Linked DNA regions of Homo sapiens: regions 1, 2, 3 and 5 are each linked to region 4. The links are contacts of gene promoters, found by promoter capture Hi-C in blood cells and fetal thymus (Javierre and others, 2016). All regions are on one chromosome and are shown on one strand. The core of a region is centred on a gene start or on the middle of the fragment in contact, and the rest is flanking DNA. Distances in the headings are between cores, read along the strand shown.

The links. The method cuts DNA at HindIII sites, captures the fragments that hold promoters and counts their contacts. A CHiCAGO score of 5 or more calls a contact.
Region 1: a contact is called between a fragment that was not itself captured here and the fragment with the promoter of NAPG in region 4, in 4 of 17 cell types (monocytes, non-activated CD4 T cells, total CD8 T cells and 1 more). The highest score is 7.3, in monocytes.
Region 2: a contact is called between a fragment that was not itself captured here and the fragment with the promoter of NAPG in region 4, in 16 of 17 cell types (fetal thymus, total B cells, naive B cells and 13 more). The highest score is 25.7, in fetal thymus.
Region 3: a fragment that was not itself captured here is called in contact with the fragment with the promoter of NAPG in region 4 in 6 of 17 cell types (fetal thymus, naive B cells, endothelial precursors and 3 more); the score reaches 10.5 in fetal thymus.
Region 5: a contact is called between a fragment that was not itself captured here and the fragment with the promoter of NAPG in region 4, in 3 of 17 cell types (endothelial precursors, naive B cells and M0 macrophages). The highest score is 6.8, in endothelial precursors.

What each region holds. Positions count from the first base shown.
Region 1 is chr18:9,619,434-9,622,133 of GRCh38, forward strand. No RefSeq gene overlaps it. Among named protein-coding and RNA genes, the nearest start is that of PPP4R1-AS1, 6.0 kb to the left of the region's middle. The HindIII fragment of the contact is 2,301 bases long and covers 141-2,441 here.
Region 2 is chr18:9,974,251-9,976,950 of GRCh38, forward strand. No RefSeq gene overlaps it. Among named protein-coding and RNA genes, the nearest start is that of VAPA, 62 kb to the left of the region's middle. The HindIII fragment of the contact is 6,845 bases long and covers 1-2,700 here.
Region 3 is chr18:9,992,717-9,995,416 of GRCh38, forward strand. No RefSeq gene overlaps it. Among named protein-coding and RNA genes, the nearest start is that of VAPA, 80 kb to the left of the region's middle. The HindIII fragment of the contact is 1,372 bases long and covers 569-1,940 here.
Region 4 is chr18:10,524,706-10,527,405 of GRCh38, forward strand. NAPG (NSF attachment protein gamma) reads left to right here and starts at 1,322. Exons shown (of 12, transcript NM_003826.3): 1 at 1,322-1,453. The coding sequence starts at 1,398. RefSeq lists a silencer at 1,465-1,714. The HindIII fragment of the contact is 5,497 bases long and covers 1-2,700 here.
Region 5 is chr18:10,011,790-10,014,489 of GRCh38, forward strand. No RefSeq gene overlaps it. Among named protein-coding and RNA genes, the nearest start is that of VAPA, 99 kb to the left of the region's middle. The HindIII fragment of the contact is 6,892 bases long and covers 1-2,700 here.

The DNA.
Region 1 (2,700 bases), core at 41-2,540, 910 kb before region 4:
TGAGGTACTACATCCTACACAATTTGTTCCACACATTTTAATTTCATTAAGAGAAAACAAAGATGTTTAAACAGTGAGCACTAAATGGATTAGAGTGGCAGTAGTAAATTTCCTTTGTGCCTTTCTCTTAGAATTTAGAAAGCTTTAGTTGCAATCCCATTCAAAGCAATATGGGAGAGGCTTCCACAATGCCTGGCACAGAGTACGTGTGGAGGAAATGCTTATCATTTTAGATGCTTATTATTTTAAATGTTTAAATGTTTATTATTCTGAATCTGAATGGATGAGTCAAGTTGAACCAGGAAATAAACCATAGCAAACCACATATTCAAACCCAGATAAGTTCAGTGGTTAACTGCCCTGACTCTAAGCTCCCTTCACACTAAGGCTGCTCTATGGTAATATGATTCAGAAGAAATTACTTCCATTCTCATTTCACTTCTCTGTAACTGTTTGTAACAAATTGCTTGTGTCTCTGGTCCTTGGTTCCTTCCTTTGGTGGGAAAAATATTAGCACAATGACACAATATAATTCCCAGACTAGATAGCTAATACATTTTCTAACTTTTTATTTAGAAACAATTACAGATTTACATGAAGTTTCAAATGATGTGCCAGGATGTCCTATGTCACTTTCACATCAGTTCCCCCAATGGTAATATTACCGTATATATGAAACATTTTTCAGAGCGTGTGCCAGGCATCATGTTAAGCGCTTTTTCTTTTTTTTTCTTTTTTTCTTTTTTTTTTTTTTTTCTGAGATGGAATCTCGCTCCATCACCCAGGCTGGAGTGCAGTTGCACAATCTCAGCTTGCTGCAATCTCAGCTTGCTGCAACCTCCGCCTCCCGGGTACAAGCGATTCTCCTGTCTCAGCCTCCTGAGTAGCTGGGACTACAGGCGCCCACCACCATACTCAGCTAATTTTTGTATATATATATATATATTTTTTTTTTTTTTTTGTACAGACGGGGTTTCACCATGTTGGCCAGGCTGGTCTCAAACTCCTGACCTCAAGTGATCCACCTGCCTCGGCCCCCCAAAGTGGTGGGATTACAGGTGTGAGCCACCGCGTCCAGCCTGTTAAGCACTTTTATGTGCTTTCTGATTATTTAAAACAGCCCTGTGAAGTAGAAATTGATATTACCATTTTAAAAATAAAGGAAATCGAAGCTCAGAAAGGTTGGGTATTTTGACAAAGATCAAAAAGCAAATGACCTGGCACAGTGGCTCACACCTGTAATCCCAGCACTTTGGGAGGCCGAGGTGGGTGGATCATTTGAGGCCAGGGGTTCGAGACCAGCCTGGCCAACATGGTGAAACCCTGTCTCTACTAAAAATACAAAAGTTAGCTGGGTGTGGTGGCACATGCCTGTAATCCCAGCTACTCGGGAGGCTGAGGCATTAGAATCTCTTGAACCCAGGAGGTGGAGTTTGCAGTGAGCCGAGATCACACCACTGCACTCTGGCCTGGGTGACAGAGTGAGACTGTCTCAAAAAAAAAAAAAAAAAAGAAAAGAAAGAAAGCAAGCAAGCAAGCAAATAGGGGAATTAGTATTCAAACACTGGAATCCTGATTCTAAATAATGGCAATAGCGTTTGCGTATCCTCACATTCATAGCTTTTCTGTCAAAATGGTCCTTCGTCAACTTCTTTCGCATTAAGAGAACTTCTAGTCTTTCAACATGTATGGTCTTGGTATAATCTCTAATTCCATCTAAGTTATCACTGTTCCCTGAGGATTTTGTCATTGAAACATTTTAGGAGTCACCTCTTCACTCCGTTTCTCACTCAATATCCTGACCAAGATATTAACCACTTCAAAACCATACTAATAACTTTTTAACTAGCCTGTTTCAATTATTCTGGCCAAGTATACAAAAATTATCTTTCTCATATAATATTTTGTTCATCACAATTCTGTGAAATTCCCAAGCAAGTGCCTTAACAGTGTCCTCTCACCAGCTGCCCTTGGCTTGAATGGCTGCAGTTTGCCACCATTTCATTATTCGGACAAATCATCCAGGTAGACAATCTTGAACTCAGGTGCCAACTCACTTCTCCCTCAAACGATGTTCTTGGTTTTTTAGGAGGTTTTGTTGTTGCTGCTGCTTGTAGGTATGTGGCAGGTGTTGGGAGGGGTGGAATTCTACATATTTTTTTTTTTTTGAGATGCGGTCTCACTTTGTTGCCCAGGCTAGTCTTGAACTGCTGGGTTCAAGCAATCCTCCCACTTTGGCCTCCCAAAGAGCTGGGATTACAGGTGTGAACCACCATGGCCGGCCGGAATTCTACATCTTTGTAACATTTATTCTTTTCTGAATTTTCCAATTACAAAAATACATGTTTTTGGAGTGCCCAGAAAAGTATAAAGAAAAAACTAAAATCTCCAAAAATTTAGAGATAATACCCCCAAACAGTTTATGTTTACCTATTTTTTAAAGCTTTCAAAGTCCTATATTTAAAAAAGTTTAGCCTAGGCCGGGCGCGGTGGCTCACGCCTGTAATCCCAGCACTTTGGGAGGCTGAGGTGGGCGGATCACGAGGTCAGGAGATTGAAACCACCCTGGCTAACATGGTGAAACCCCGTCTCTACTAAAAATGCAAAAAATTAGCCGGGCGTGATGGCGGGCGCCTGTAGTCCCAGCTACTCGGGAGGCTGAGGCAGGAGAATGGCATTAATCTGGGAGGCGAAGCTTGC
Region 2 (2,700 bases), core at 39-2,538, 550 kb before region 4:
GTTTCCAGGTAAGGAAATCTGGTCCTAAGGCCAGCATCTGGGAGGAGAAGGACGGTGTCTCCCTTTGGCATGATCTACCAGGAAGATGGAAATTACTACCATTCTCCAAAAGCGGCTCATTCTGCCAGAAGCTGTCTACATTAGAAGGGAGAACAAACTTGGAGGTGGAGTTGGAGGGGTGCAGCATTGGGAATGTCTGCTTCTCATTAGGTTGTGTGTGTGGGAGAGAGGGGCTAGGTGGAGTTCATTAGCATCATTAGGTAGTTGTCCTGGACTTTCCCCAGTGGGAAGGAATGAGGCCTCAGGGCACTTTCAATTAAAAAATCTGATTTTATGTCTTTGGGAAATAGTTTTATGTTTATTTCTTAACATACCATTTTCTAATGAAGCTATTTGACTTCTAAGAGAACACTTTTTATTGACTATAAAGAATAAAACAATCTTGTGATGTTGAAACCATGTTCCACAAATTCAGTATGGAGTCATCTGTCAAGAATAAACAAACCAACCAAAACCACCATACAGCTTATTCCAGAGTAAAATGTGATTTTTAAGACTTTTACTGCTCAGCACAGAGGTATTCTGGAAGTCCAAGCAGACATTACAATGGATTTGTACATGCAAAGTTGGAATAGGGTATTTCATGTGTCATAGGCCTTCCTGGAGCGGTAGCACTACTGCTCTTGCCTTACCCAAGATCCATTCTTCTTTCCTTCTTCACGGATGGAACCCTGCTTTTGTTTGGGGTAGCACTGTGCCCTACTAAAAAATTACATTTCTTGGCATCCTTTGTAGTTGGGGGAAGGTCATGTGATACTCTTCTGAACAATCAGAAGTGAAAGACTGCTGGAAATTTCTGGGAAGTTGTACTTTCCTATTTTGGCATCTACTACTTTCTCCTTGTGTTACTTTCCTCTTCTCCAGATTGAAAGGTGAATTTGATTGGCTTTATGTCTTCAAGTTTATTCTTAAAACCGTGAACTAAAGACTGAGAAAATTACAGAATTCTCAGCCCTGACACTTTTGAGCTGCTGGACTAATACTAATTGTCTGGATTTCATGTGGCATGAGAGAAAAATAATAGCCCTAATTTATTCAAGTGACTCATGATCAAATTTTCAGTACTCCTAATTTATATTTGACATTTCACCAATATAAATATAATTACACTTCTTGTATTTTTCTTACTAAAATGCTTCAGCTGCCACATGCCCATGTTTGCAGGAAGCCCAGGCTCTCTGTCTCGAGGCCTCTTCTGTCACTCCTCCCACCCCTCACGATGACCAAAGGTTTTCATTCTACCTCGAACTCCAGGTGGATGGATAGTTGGAAACCCTGACTGCCCACTAGCAGAGCCTATTGCCCACCACAGGATGTTCTTGGAAAAACCTTGAGCAGTCTTGTGCTTCCTAAACTGTGGTTGGCACAGCCTTTTCTTTAAAAGAAATTTTATCTGGAAATGTTATTACTTCACCTTCATTCTTGAAGGATATTTTGTTGGGCACACAATTCTAGGTTTTCAGTTATTTTTTTTCAGCCCTTTAAAGATATCATTCCATTGTCTTTGGGCTCCACTGTTTCTATGAATAGTCAGCTGTCAGTTTATTTGTTGCTCCTTTAAGGAATTTGTCTATTATTCTCAGGCTTTTAAAAGATGGCCTCTTTGTCTTTGGTTTTCAGCAGTTTTAATACAAAGGAGGTGTGGGACTTTTTTGATTTGTTTTGTTTTTATGTTTATTTGGCTTGGGATTGGAAAGTCTTCTGGATTTTGAGGCTTGATATTTTTAATTAGTTTTGGAAAAATTTCCACCATTATTTCTTATAATACAGCTTTTACCTAAATAATTTTATCCCTTAATGGGTCTTCAATTTTTTACACATTAGACCTTCTCATTGTGTCTCCTATGTATCTTACCCTCTTTTTTGTATTATTCTTCATTTGTCTTTTTGACTTCACTCCTGGACATTTTCTTCTGGTCAGGCTTCTATTTTACCATTTTTCTCTTCAGCTATGTCTAATTTGTGGTTAAACCTATACAGTAAGATCTTAATTTTGATTGCTACATTTTCTTATTTCTAGACTTTTCTTTCAAAAATAGTTTCCAGTTCTTGACAAAACTTAAAACTTTATTTTTTATCTACTTGCACATGAGGACAGCTATTTTAAATTCTGTGCCTTATATCTCAATTATCTGGAATACATAGAGTCCATTTCCATTTTGTTGATTTTCTTGGTGTTTTCTTATTTTCTAGTATGCATCACTATTTTAATTTTAATGCCAGACATTGTTTATGAAAAATGGTGAAGTAATTTGAGGCCTATAATGATTTTATATTCTTTTGTTTTATTATACTTTAAGTTCTAGGGTACAGGTGCACAACATGCAGGTTTGATACATAGGTATATGTAGGCCATGTTGGTTTGCTGCACCCATCAACTCGTCATTTACATTAGCTTTTTCTCCTAATGCTATTCCTCCCCCACCCCTCCAACCCTAACAGGCCCCGGTGTGTGATGTTCCCCGCCCTGTGTCCAAGTGATCTCATTGTTCAATTCCCACCTATGAGTGAGAACATGCAGTGTTTGGTTTTCTGTCCTTGTGATAGTTTGCTGAGAATGATGGTTTCCAGTTTCATCCATGTCCGTGCAAAGGACATTAACTCATCCTTTTTTTATGGCTGCATAGTATTCCATGGTGT
Region 3 (2,700 bases), core at 5-2,504, 530 kb before region 4:
TATTCTGACTTAATGAACTTTATCCTCTCCTTTTTTGGCTGGAAAAACATAAAAGTCCCAATGAAAGGAAACGGATGTAGTTGCTTTGAGCATTTCCAAAGGAAACTGCAGTAAAATGTGAACCATCGCCCTGTGAAAGCCTGTTGTGTAATGGAGATGTCCTGATACTGTTTCCATCTGCCAGCTCTGTGTAAGCGGAGGGGGTGTCTCTGGCCAGCAGAGCCCCCACATCAGAGTCACAACAACAGCAAAGTCGTGGAAATGTTTGGGAAAAAAGCTCAAACCACACTTCTAACCATGCTCGGTTTTTCTTGTAACCGAAAGCCATGCAAAAGAAGGGAGGCCAAAGGAGGACCTGTGGGCTGGCAATTTAGAATGATGTTTGAACAGAGGAAGAGAAGTGAGGATGACTGGGAAGAACAGTCTTTGATGATCAATTCGTAAGCCCCAGTGAGCAGGCACAAACTCAGGTTCACCCAATGGGGAATGGAAACCAGTGTTGCCAGCGCTCGGGGAAGGCTGCAGCTTGGTTCGCCTTAGTGAAAGCTGTGGATGGCTCATGGTCCCAAGCTTCCTATTTTTCTTACTGTGCTCAGGGTGTCTGATTCCTGGCCAGTGTCTTGGATGTCCTGGGTCAGCCCACGTACGCCAGTGCATGTTGGAAGGGGAGAGTTGATTCCCTCTCCCAAGCCAGGAGGTCCGTCGGCATGGGCTCTTTCATAAGCATGCTTTCCTACAGAAGGTCTGAATGGTCACAGTCCAGTCTATAGTTTAAAAGAAGTGCAGGCCTTCTATTTGCGCCTGTCTTCCTCACGTGCCTTCCCCCGTTTCCTTCTCACTTCCTACCATGGCGGTGTAGAGACTCTCAAAATCAAGAGGGAAAAGAAGGAAGCTCAGTACTTCTTGCGGCGAGAGAAGCCAGTGCCGGTGCGGACACTCTTGGCTGGTGGAATCTGTGGTGGGGGTGGGGGGTGCCCTCACTGGCAGGGAGCTTACAGATGCATTGGGTGGTGTGAGGAGATCACAGATGTACTTGGCCTCTGTCTGTGAGCCCCCACCGTGTGTGCCGTGGCCCCTACACTTATCCCGCCCCCCCGTTGTGCTCCACAGAGCTGGAAAAAAGAATGGTCCCGTTATCATTGTCACCCAAGCAGTCGCTTCAACAGATGCCTTTGTTCTTCCAGGCTGCCCAGATACCAAAAGGCTGGAATTAATAATTGACTAAAATTAATAGGGCAGTGCTTGTCTAAATGAAATGTGGTCTGGGCTGCATTTCAACTTGACAGTTCTCGTTCTCCTGTTGGATTTTGTTGTTGTTGTTGGTTCTGGGGCAACTTTACAAGGATGTGGGTGAGTGTGCCTCAGTTTGATTTGTGGCTCAGCTGTCTACTTTTAAATTAAAATACCTGGCAAACAAAAGGCCCAGCTCTTGGGTTCAGAAAACGAACTGCAGACGTCTGAGGTGTGGCCCTGAGATTTAGCGGGAGCAGGAGTAAAACGGGTTAAAGTTTGGTTGAGAATAAAGTTAATATTCAGCACTGGTGTATTGTGGCTGCCAAGAATACGAGCTGTGGCCGTGTTAATAAAAGTGCAGTGTTTAGAGGGAGTGAGTGATCGTCTTGCTCTGGCTCTGTGGGACCACCCGTGGAGCTTGGCTGGGCTCTGTGAGGGGCACCTCTATTTAAAGGGAGCATGAGCAGATGGGGGGCTCTGACAGGAGAGCAGTGGGACCTTGTGGGCACCCGGGACCATGCTCGAGACACAGGGGAAGCAGGGGAGGGCATGGATGTCTTGGTTAAGAGAGTTGAAAGGCTACAGATACGAGAAAGGGGCACTGGACTGCTGTGCACATGAACGGTCCCAGCTCTGCAAGGGGGAAGCAGTGAGCGCCCCGGGAAGGGGATGCTGCATAACCACCCTGTGTGTACACGTCAGAAAGAAGCTTGAAACACGTGACCGTAGTCTTGTCCAGCCATGAGATTTTATCATTTTCAGATGGATGCATTTTCCTTCTTTTCAACAGGTTTAAGTAAAATTTATTAAGGTCAGTCTCCCGGGTGAATACTGAGGGCCCCTTGAATCAGCTCAGTGGGATTTCAACTCTGTCTGCACCTCAGATACTCCCCGGTTTGACTCTCAACACACCCTTGATATCTCTCAGTGAGCCTGACTGCATGGCACGAGGCCTGACTGCCAAGGTATCTCGTTCACTAGGAGTCTGAAAGAGTCAGTGCCTCTTCAACATGGCCAATTCATTCCTGAGGAGGACTTTACTTGCTAGGAGCAAATGATTAACTATTCATAACATTTGTTGAGCATCAAAAAATTGGGAATGAGCAAGTAGCCCGGAATTTGATACATTTCACTTCTTTGACTTTGCCATCTGAAGCCAGAGACAGGAAGTCATCTGAGCTGACGGGCATTTTGGGTGAGTGGTGTGCCAGTACCTCCTTCCAGGCCAGCACTGTGCAGAGAATCCCAGCAGCCTCCAAGACATCTAACAAACAGATAGAACTGAAAACCCAGTCATTGCAAGCTTCTGGTTTGGGTCCAGAACGTAGGCCATCTCAACCCTGAGGGCAAAGCCTTCTTCAGTGTCTCGCCAGAGAAACTAAGGGCCAGTCTTTGGTTGCCCTGGCAAGGACCAGGTCATCTAATTTAGGGGCATCTCTGAAAGCCATGCAAATGCTTTGTAAAGGC
Region 4 (2,700 bases), core at 72-2,571:
ATGCAGGAAGATCGATCGATTGTGTGGTGAGGCCAAAGGGAAGAACTCTTCGAATAGTTATTTCATATTCAACAATAAGTGAGAGTTGGCAGGCAAGCAGAGATTGTGTAGGAGTTTTGAGAAGGAAGGTGTGAACAGCCCTCCAAGTGAGTGGGTGAGTGATTTGACCATGGAAACATAGGAGAGTTGCTCAGCAGCACCAAAGGTCGGCTTAATGTTTATGATCATTAAAATGAGTAATGTTAGCATCCTCGTTTGTTTTTTTCCAGTCAAATTCACTTGCTCAAGAGCAGTTCCAGAGTAGGTGGAGAGCTGGGGTTTTTCCTGGCTTGGAGAAAGGAGGGAGAGGGAGCCAAGGCCGTTGAGAGTATACGCACTAAAATGATGGGACATGAATTTATGCTGGGAAAAGAAGGACGTGTAAGAGCAGAGGGATAGGGAAAGGTGAGGAATCTGGTGAAGGTTAAGTAATTACTAGCACTAGGAGGTATGAGCTGGAATGGAAAGGGGAAGTAAAGTGAGCTGTTTGAAACTGACACTACGGAGGGTACACAGTTATGAGTAAGGTCAAGGGTGTGATCCCAGGAATGTGTGGCTGCGCTAGTGTGGGAAAGATCACAGGAGGTTGGAAGCTGAGAGGCTGTATAGTCATTGCAGGAATCATCCATGTGGATATTGAAATCACCATGAATTATGAATGAAGCCAACTGTATTACTGGTTACTATTTTTACCAGACCACTGTACGCGACTTTAGATCCCTCAACTTCCCATTTAGAGCACTTATCACGGCTTGAAATATTAGAGCGATTATTTGGGTTGGGCGCGGATTATTTGACAGTAATCAGGGTTTACAAGTCTGTTTCGTTTCTTGACTGACATACAATTAATACCCAAAAGGCAGAATGGATAGAAGAATACTATTCTATCTGTCATACAGAGAAACTTCAGATGTAATAAATTATAAAGCCAATTAACCCTACAAACAGGATCCACAGCAGTTTCACATTAATGAAAAAGCAAGACTTCAAGAGGGCGGGAGTTTTTGTCTGCTGATCTTCCCGCATCTAAAATAGTGCCTGACACATATTAGGTGCTTTGCAAATATTGAATGAAAGAATACGCCCCATCAGTATCTCACCGCGCCTGCGCTAGATGCCCTAGGTGGGGCCAGCCTTGACGCGCTGCGCCTGCGCAATGTCTCTTTGCGGGGCGCACCGGCAGGCTCCCAGCCCCGCTTCGTCGCAGCGGCTTGGGCCCTCCGGCCCTCCGTAGCCGCTCGACTGTCGCGCTGCACCAGCTTCCTCCTCGGCGTTCCCACGCCTATTTGGGCGGATTCTTGGCGCCGGAGGAAGAGGCAGGGTCACCCTCTCTCCACGTCAGAGACCTGACTGTGGAGATGGCGGCTCAGAAGATAAACGAGGGGCTGGAACACCTCGCCAAAGCAGAGAAATAGTGAGTGAGAACCTTCCGGGGGCCTGTGTGTAGACGCCGGGTCCGTCTCTCACTGGCGCGGCCTTAGCACCCGGGGGGGGCGGGAGGGAGGGCTCAGGGCTGAGGGGCCTCGGCGCGCTGGTGCCCGCAGGGCTGCCGGGGCTCGGTGTCCTCTGGGTCACACTCCCGGGGTCGGGGTCAGCTCTGCGGCGCCTCGGGAAGCGCCGTGGGTCCACCCCGCCGGAAGTCCGCTCCCCAGAGCCGGTGTGGGCGGGGACTCGGCGCAGTGCTGCGGGGCGAGGGCTTCTCTACTTGGGCGCTCTGCTCCTGAAGATTGTGGTGGGGGCTGTCTGTGCATCGGAGGCTCGTTAGCAGCATCCTTGGCCTCTACCTGCTGGGTGCCGGTCGCATCTCTTCCCCATTTGTGGCAACCCAAAATGTCATCTGGGGAACAACATCGCTCTGTTGAGAACCACCGCCCTAGAAGAGCCCCCTGTGTGGAGGGGACCATAGGTTTACCCCAAAAACTCCTCGGTGAACCTTTGTCATCTGGCATTTTACTGTCCCTGTGGGCAGGGACTGTGCTTCGTTCGTCCTTTGATGTGTATGTCCTGCCACCTCTGGTACAGTACGTAGTAGGCACCCTGCAAATGTTTGTGGGACTGAACTGATAATCCTTAATTCATCCTTTTGGCAGCCTCTTCCCCCCGTTTCATTACTCCAGTGCATTTTTATCTGGCAGTTACAGTTAATAGAAAGTCAGCATTGTGGGCCGGGCGCGGTGGCTCACGTCTGCAATCCCAGCACTTTGGGAGGCCGAGGCGGGCGGATCACAAGGTCAGAAGATCCAGACCATCCTGGCTAACACGGTGAAAACCGTCTCTACTAAAAATACAAAAAATTAGCCGGGCGTGGTGGCGGGCGCCTGTAGTCCCAGCTACTCGGGAGCCTGAGGCAGGAGAATGGCCTGAACCCGGAAGGCAGAGCTTGCAGTGAGCCGAGATCGCGCCACTGCACTCCAGCCTGGGCCACAGAGCGAGACTCCGTCTCAAAAAAAAAAAAAAAAAAGAAAAGAAAAAGTCAGCATTGTGCTCTGTGGTGGGTGCTTCACATACATAATTTCATAAGCTGAGATCTTCACAATAACTTTCCAAATAGAGATTCTAATTTTTCGTAAGAGGAAATGAGACTCAGGGAAGCCTCATAACGACTTGCCCCCAACTGCACAGGTGAAAGATCGCAGAGCCAGTTTTCAAACAGTGGAAAAA
Region 5 (2,700 bases), core at 184-2,683, 510 kb before region 4:
CAAATGGCAAACCACCAACAGCAGAAGGAAGTTTTGTTTGGAGTCAGGGGATGCCTTGTAAGTTACAGAAATTTACAAGGGCAAAGGCAGCCATGTGCTCAAGATTTAAACTTCCTCTAGATGCTTCTTGACAGAAACCATTGGGACAAGTCTTCAACTTCTGAAATTATATTTTGAAGGCAGTGCCACACTTTTGCTGAGGGTGAGTGGGTGGATTACTACATGAAGGGACAGTAGGAGATGCCTCTGTTAATGGATTATTCTTTCATGGGGTTATCCACACAAAAACAACACAACTCAATGTCAAGTGCCTTTTAGGCCTCCCTTTAATTTTAAGGATCTGAAGAAGGAGGTAGCAGATGGAGACACTGAGCCACAGAGCCACACACCTACAGCCATATGATAAATCAGCCATGAGTCCAGAGAACCAAGTCTACTTTTCCTGATTCCAGAGGCTCTGGATGAAGTCAAAGCAATTGTGTTCCAGGTGCTTGTTGCTGTTTTCAAGATGAGTGCACAGCCAACATTGGTGCCTCGATGGGCCTATCTCCTTCCTGGAATGGTAAGCCACAGTACCCGTCCCAAAAGGATGAGCTCTGAGAGGAGCTGAGCGTACAGGGACTCTGAGACAGAGCCCCAGCATTGTGGAAAATGTGATGGCTAGAATCTGAGGACACCTGGGACTGTTATGTTTAAACTGCCAACAGCTCTTCTGTTTTTCTAGGTGGAAGTTTGGGTTATTCTTTCCAATTACTTCTTTGGGGGAAAAGACTTCAAAGGGCCTTTGGTTGCATCCTACAGTACATCGGGGAGCAGCCACAGTCACATGGAGGTGAAGAACCCTTTCCTTATGTTCTGTTCAGTTCTTGCCTATGGCCAAGCTAAGCCCTGTTGGATCTGGGCCAGAGCCAGGTGATATTTACTGCCCTACACACACTTTTGGCTCCCATGCACCTCGGTCAAGGGTCCCTGCCCTCTTGACCAGGGCGGTGATGGGGCTCATGGAGTGGTGCAGTGCCCTGGTCAGCTGGTATCTCAATGGCCTGGACTCTGGAGGGAAGGTCCTGGGTGCCTCCTTTCTTTCTTGCCCATTGTTGGGGAACAGACCTTGCGGGATGGGCTCTCTTGGCTCCTAGCTTGGGATTTTGGATGAAAGGCTTGGACCTCTGCTCCACGAGTGGTGAATTGTAATTCTGATTTAAATATGATCAGATATTTTAGAGCCGTATGAAGGGAAGAAAGAAGTGCATTTATGATCCAGTTCTTAAAATAAGAAACTTGAACTTACTAGTCTGATAGCATGGACTGACATAATTGCATTCTGCAGATCATCATGCAGAGCTGGTTTAGATAAGGTATCTTTTCTCCCCCTTGCTGATTTTTGGAGAGGGAGAGGCCCTGGACACTGGTAGAGGCACCATTATAAAAGCACTCAGAGGCGGGTCGCAGTGTCACATGCCTGTAATCCGAGCATTTTGGGAGGCTGAGGTGAGAGGATTGCTTGAGCCCAGGAGTTCGAAGCTACAGTGAGCTATGATTGTGCCACTTCACTCCAGCCTGGGAGACAGAGCAAATGAGACCCTGTCTCAAAAAATTTTTTTTTAAATAATAAAAGCATTCTGAAAGAGTGGTGGTGGGTAAATCACACAATTCGTCTTTCTAATTGGGAAACTCATTGGGTGAAAGGGGCAGCTGGAAACAACCAGTCCAGGATATATCGGATGATAGCTGGACTGTAACTGCCATGCAAGCTGAGATACTGGAGGGCTGGGGACCCTATGGACACTGTTTGCAGCTGTATCTGGCATTCATTTTTAATATATTTCTTTTCTCCTCTTTTTTGTCATTCCCCCTGTTATCCACAAGTCCTCAATATATTTTTGTAGAAGTTACAGCCCGATCTTAGTGCTGGGAAAATCGAGGGAGGGGCTTGTGTCCATGGTAGCAGGAAAGGATACAGGAACAGGGACAGAGCCTGGGGAAACCGCTGTGATAGCAGGCAGTGGGGTGCACGTCCTCCTTGTGATGAGGCAGCCAGCCGAGGAGACCAATGACAGCAGCCTGGACCCACGGGCTCTGCAGATCTTCTATGGGCGTCCCAGAGCCCTTTTGGAGGGAACTTGGTGAAGGATGGGGTTCCCTGCATGTAAGTGTGGAGTGGGGGCTGGACTGTCGTTATCTGGGCATTGAGGGCCATATGGATAGCACAGAACCAAAGGGACAAATGGCCACTAGACTACCCTATGACTTGGCTCTGATGACTCCCAGACACCGTGCCATTCTCCTTGCTCCGCCTTATCTTCTGAGAGTCCTGGCATGGCTCCCTGACCCTCCACCTCGTCCGTGTTACTCTACAATGACAGGCCACAATGAGGACACAGAGTCAGCAGAGGGCCAGGCAGCTGTTCACCTCTCCCATCACACCCAGGTAAAACTCCAGCTCATGTTGGCCCACCTCCTGGAAAAGTCTCTCTGTCAACAGCATTTCAGGATCTCGTATTCAGAAGACAACAGCTTTAGCGAGGAGGGCACTGTGACTGCAGGTGGGCATCTGTGCTTCCGCCCGTGTGGGACCCCTGGGACACTTACGCTGGGGGAGGATGTGGTTAGTGGCCACACAAATGCCTAAATCCAAAGACATTGGAAAGTGAATTAATTCACTAAAAAATAGGTTGTTTCTTTAGTGAATAAAATAACTTA